Linked DNA regions of Homo sapiens: region 2 is linked to region 1. The links are contacts of gene promoters, found by promoter capture Hi-C in human tissues and cell types (Jung and others, 2019). All regions are on one chromosome and are shown on one strand. The core of a region is centred on a gene start or on the middle of the fragment in contact, and the rest is flanking DNA. Distances in the headings are between cores, read along the strand shown. Region 1 holds the start of PRDM14 (PR/SET domain 14). Region 2 overlaps XKR9 (XK related 9).

Region 1 (2,700 bases), core at 33-2,532:
AGGGGGCAAGCAGGCGGCAGGGCGCGCGGGGAGACAAGGCTGAGTGCACGCCGCCCGCGCCCTCGAAGGCTCTAGTCCCACTCCTTCCTCCCTTCTTGCAGCCCCGCCGCGCCCTGGCGAAGGCTACAGGGTCAGGTTCCCCGCACCGAGGAGCCCAGAAGCCCGGCTGCGGGCGCTCTGAAGATCCGGGACCCCGGCCTCCGTCCCCCGCCAGCTTTAGGGACTCTGGCGGCGTCTCTTAGCCGGGTAGATGTTCCTCCTTTCCCTCTCTCTTCCAAGCCGCTGCCAGGCCGGGGGTGAGGCTGCACCTCAGTCTTCAGCCCCGAAGGCCGCGCCCGGGGCGGGTCGCTCCCCATTCAGCTAAGAGGAAGCAGCGGCCGGGGGGCAGGCGAGGAACCTGTCCCGGCTCACCCGGCAAGACTGCGTTTCCCCCACCCTCGGCGCTTCTTTCTGTGAATGTGAATGGAACTAAGCGTTCCTTTCTCTCCCTCAATGGCCGGCGAGGAGAATTCAAATGCGGTCTTTGGGCGCTCGGTATGGGTCTGGACCTTGGTTTTCAGAGCCTGCGCGTCCAAGGTCGCTAGCCTTTCCCGAAGGAAGTGACAGCTGCGGCGGCGCGGGAGGCCCATCCTCGGTCGTTTAAAGCCACTTAAGGAATAAAAGCCCCCGAGAGAGCAAAACGACCACCCGAAACCTCGGAAGCGTCGGGGGTGCCGGGCCCAACGCTCCCACGTGTCACTGCCGGGGACTCGCGAGGCGAAGCTTCCCAGCGCTCAAGGCGCTCCCGCCTCGTCCCCAGGTATCAGGAACAGACACCCACCAGGTCCACCAGCGGGTCAGACGCCGCCTTCGGGCAGGCTGGGATCTTCCGAACTGGGAGCGGAGAGTAAGGGGCTCGACCCCGGGACGCGAGTCCGGCCTTCTGGACTCCGGTTCAGGGTGTGTGTGCGCGCGGAGGGGCTTATCTGGGGGCCCTGGGTAGCACACGTGTTCGGTTTTTTTCTCCCCGACTCCGCACGCCTGGAGCGGCAATACTGCCTGCCCTAGAAGGCCAGCGGCGAGTGCTCGCCACTAGGGTCCCAGGGAGGGTTTGGAAAACTGATGAGTTAAGTGAGCGACCCCAGGGGACAGAGGGCGAGTCGAGAGTCGGCCAATGGCTGCGGTGGGCGGGGAGAAGACGACGCGGGGATCTGCGTGGGCCGGGTCAATTCCCTACCCTCGACCTGTCGATGCCCCGCGGCCCCGCCCGCCCTCTTAAGCCTGGCTCAGCCCTCAGGGCCCGCCCGAAGTCTACCGAGCCCGAGTGGCCTACCGAGCCCGAGTGGCCCCGCAGCGTCCAGGAGGCGCCCGCTCCGCGGTGGCGCTCTTGGAGGTGGTGTCGGAGGTAGGCACGGGACAGGACGCGCCTGGGGCCCGGGGCGGTGGTCTTCCAGGGCCGTTGGGGAGGGCGGCAGCACTCGCTGGCGCAGTTCGTTTTGGATGGTCGTTCTGCCCTCTCGGGGGCTTTGAATCCCAAGTTGCAGATCCCTGAGGTCGGAGGAGGCTAGGAGAAGGGCGCCTTTGGAGGATCGGGAGGAGACGGGCCGCTGCCTGTGTCGTGGCTGACCTCTTCTCCTGACCCCGTGTTCTTTAATTTCTGAGTCATGACCCTGCTTGGTTTTCTTATTGGGCTCATTGATCTCAAGACCCGCCGGCCCTGAAGGGGCTTCATTCTTCAGCCTCGGTGAACTTGCTGCCTGTCTATTAAAACGCCATCCTTTCCCGGCGGTGCGGGGGCGGGAGGACTGGCAGTCGCCGAGGCTCTTCGCTCCCACCTGGCCAGGGCTCGTCCACGCGGCTCCCGAGGGGCTACCCCAGGCCCCAATAGTCCTGGTAGAATGATTGGAGTTTCCGAGGAACCCGGGGAATGTGGCGGACGCTGCCCGCGAGGGAAAAGAGGTTCAGGCGGCGCATCCTAGGGCAGCCAAAAGTGGCGCGCCCCTCCCCTGCGGGCAGTCAGGACCGCCAGGACCCGCGGGGTCACACCGCTGGGCCAGAGCAGGTCGCGGGGTCCCTGGACCTGCCCGGGGGCTCTGGGAGCGCGTCTCCATCTGCGCGGTGCGACCCAGGGTCCTCGGCTCTTCCCTCCCAGCCGAGGGCCCAGGAGCGCCTGGAGCTGTCGCTTGCTCCATTGCCCTCCGACCGCCTGCGCTCGGCTCCCGGCCCAGCCCCGAGGTTGGCAGGGCCCCGCGGCTCCCACAGACCCTACCAACGAGTTTTGTAGGACTGAGAAGAAGGAAGGAAAGGGAACTTCAATGGGTTTTGCAGGAACCGGGTTGGGGGCCGAAAGCGGAGAGCGGGTGTGGGAAGGCGGCCGGGCTTAGGGAAGGGGTGCTTGGAGAGGGAAGGGGAAGGCAACACTAACCCGGAATTTAGAGTAGGGCAGGATCCCGGCAGATTTCCGTTTGGGGCTTTTTTGTGTTTGCTTCTATTGCTGTTTTTTCGTTTTGTCTTAATTGTGGGAGCGGGCTGGCGGGATCGGACTGGGGGCGTTTATCCTGTTCCCTTGGATCTGGGGCTGGCTGGGGTGGAGGAGGCTGGTGGGGAGGCGCGGGTCGGACCCCGGGAAGCTCCCGCGCGGTGTCCTCAGCGGCGCCCGCTTTTCTGCAGAGCCGCCGAGCGTGCGGTCCCGGGATGGCTCTACCCCGGCCAAGTGAGGCC
Region 2 (2,869 bases), core at 327-2,826, 610 kb before region 1:
AACACACACACAAACCAATACTTACTGTGTTCTTATCATTTTATCACTTATAAGTATTTTGCTAAAAAGTCTTCAGAATAATATTAAAAGGTATTTCATTCTTCTCACGGAATAAAGCAACAGTTATGATCACTGCTTCTCCTGTCAAGAATGTTGTGGCCAACAGGACAGAAAAAAACAGTTTAAAAACTGAGTTTTAAAAATCTAGTGGGCCATGAATTTCCCTGCAGCAGGTTTCTTATGCTAACATGAAAGACCTCAAGCCAACATACACATGGGGTTTAGGAGGATGAGATTAATCGGGAGGTTCTGCTCAATTGAACTAATTAAATATTTACTTAGAAACTACCATGTGCTGTTTTAGGCTTTCCTGGATATATCAAGTGATGAGAGACAAATATTCCTGCCCCTGTGGAACTTATATCCTAGCACAGAAAGATAATCAAGGGGTATCTCAACTACAATGATTTGATCTTTATAAATTATATGAATGTATTAAATTATCACATGCACCTCAAAAATATGTACATCTATTATGTATCATTCTTAAACATAAAATTCAAAATATAGTCAATTAACAATAAAAAATAATTAATAAATCAAATATATTAGAAGGTGGTAAGTGCTATGGAAAAAATAAAGCATAGTAAGGAAGATCAGCAATTACAGTAGAGATGGGCATATCATGGGCTGTGACATTAATTAGATTGGTCAGGGCAGGACTCACTGAGAAGGTGGCATTTGAGTAGTGAAATTGGCCATGTGCATAGAGATGGAAAAGCCTTCCAGCTTGAAGGAACAGCTAGTTCAAAAGTCTAATGCACTAGATTTTGAATCCTTCAAAAACAAAAGTTTCAAAAAATATTGTCAGAAATTCCTTAGCATGGTTCTACTGGATATGTTTAATGTGTATACAAATCCTGTTCTAATATCATTCTTAAAAATATAATTTCTTAAGCTTTACTAAGAAAAAAATTGCTTATATAGGAGAAGAATAGATGGTAGTAATAGTAGCTACTACTGCTAGGTGTTTACTAAAAGTGAAGTTTTTTGGCATAAATTATTTCATTTAATCCTCACAAATCCCTGTGAAAACAGTATTATTGACTCCATTTTGTAGACCAGAAAACTGAGGCATAGAGGTGTTGGATATTTAGGTGAGTTTTCTCTAATGAGTAAAATCTGTTTGCCTCCAATGCTTAGGTCCTACCCACAATATACTTACACAGTATCTGAAGAGAAAACAGAAAACATTTATAGCTGTGTGAGTATAACACTTAGGCACAGCAGTCTATAGATTTGAGATAGAATACACATTATTATTGTATATTATTCTTTTCTGTAGTGAAATTAAAGGGAGAGGGGAATATAGTTAGAATTGCAAATGATGTGATCTAAACCTTTCTAAACAAAAATCTTGGCCAGGTGCAGTAGCTCACGCCTGTAATCTCAGCACTTTGGGAGGCTGAGCCAGGCAGATCACTTGAGTCCAGGAGTTCAAGACCAGCCTGGGCAACATGGTGAAACCCCACCTCTACAAAAAAAATACAAAAATTAGCCAGGCATGGTAGTGTGCTCCTGTAGTGTCAGCTACTTGGGAGGCTGAGGTGGGAGGATCATTTAAGCCCAGGAAGTGGGGGTTGCAGTGAACTGATATGGCATCGCTGCACTCCAGACTGGGCAACAAAGTGAGACCCTGTCACAAAACAAAACAAAAAAAGATTTTTTTTATTTTTTTTTAATCTTTAACTTATTTTCCACTGCTTTTTCTCAGGAAAACTTTATAGTCTGAGAACATGTTCAAAAGAATAAAACTTGACTAAAACACAATAGTTAAGCTAAAATTTTGCTTTAAATGATTTTAAATGTAGATAATTTCCTTAAAATTACAGACTATAATACTTCAGTATTCCATATGTGCATTTCTTAATCTCTCTACCCATAAAGAGAGCTTCCTTTACCTGGCAAGAGTAATAAAAATAGTAGTAGCAGGTTTGGGTTGTTTGTTTGTTTGTTTGTTTAAGAGACAGGGTCTCTCTATATTACCCAGGCTGGTCTTGAATTCCTGTGCTCAAGTGATCCTCCCACCTTAGCCTCCTGAGTAGCTGGGACTATCAGCACAGGTACCATACCTGGCCAACACTAGCAGTTTTGAGTCAACTTTTACAAGATGGAAAGAATAATTTCCAAGAAACAGAAACTGTTACTGGCAGAACATTAGATGCAATAGATTAATCTAATATGGTAATATCCATATTCCTAATTTAGTCAGGCAGAACATAACACCAAGTAGAAGGAAACCTACATAGCAAGCTAATACATACGGCGGATCTGATAAAGAGAGCTGCAGGTCTTTCAATTGTTGAATAACTTGTATTAAGAATAGTTCATCTCTATCTCTATGGTTGATCACTATTCCAGTACCACCTTAGGTAAAATAATGCCACCTACAAAGTTTGGCTTCATAGGGGACTTCTTACACTTACTGACTTAATAGGACAATGATATAATCTGAATATATGTCCCTACCAAATCTCATGTTGAATTGTAATCCCCCATGTTGGAGGTGGGGCCTGGTTGGAGGTTTTGGGTCATAGGGGTGTATCTCTCATGGTTTGGTGCTGTCCTCACGATAGTGAGTGAGATCTGGTTGTTGTAAAGCATTGCATCTCCCCCACTACTCTCTTTTTTGCTCCTGCTCTCTCCACGTGAGACACGTGCTTCCTCTTCACCTTCTGCCATGATTGTAAGCTTCCTGAGGCCTCCCCAAAAGCAGATTCTGGCACTTTGCTTCCTGTACAGCCTGAAGAACCATGAGCCTATTAAACTTATTTTCTTATAAATTACCCAGTCTCAGGTATTTCTTTAT

What was found. The method cuts DNA at HindIII sites, captures the fragments that hold promoters and counts their contacts. A contact is called where the count stands out against the background at its distance.
Region 2: a contact is called between a fragment that was not itself captured here and the fragment with the promoter of PRDM14 in region 1, in 1 of the 25 tissues and cell types used here (spleen).

Annotation. Positions count from the first base shown.
Region 1 is chr8:70,069,834-70,072,533 of GRCh38, reverse strand. It overlaps PRDM14 (PR/SET domain 14), which reads left to right and starts at 1,282. Exons shown (of 8, transcript NM_024504.4): 1 at 1,282-1,384; 2 at 2,650-2,700. The coding sequence starts at 2,674. RefSeq lists enhancers at 329-1,058, 1,059-1,788. The HindIII fragment of the contact is 14,761 bases long and covers 1-2,700 here.
Region 2 is chr8:70,675,998-70,678,866 of GRCh38, reverse strand. All of the region lies in intron 2 of XKR9 (XK related 9), which reads right to left. Among named protein-coding and RNA genes, the nearest start is that of XKR9, 8.1 kb to the right of the region's middle. The HindIII fragment of the contact is 4,521 bases long and covers 1-2,869 here.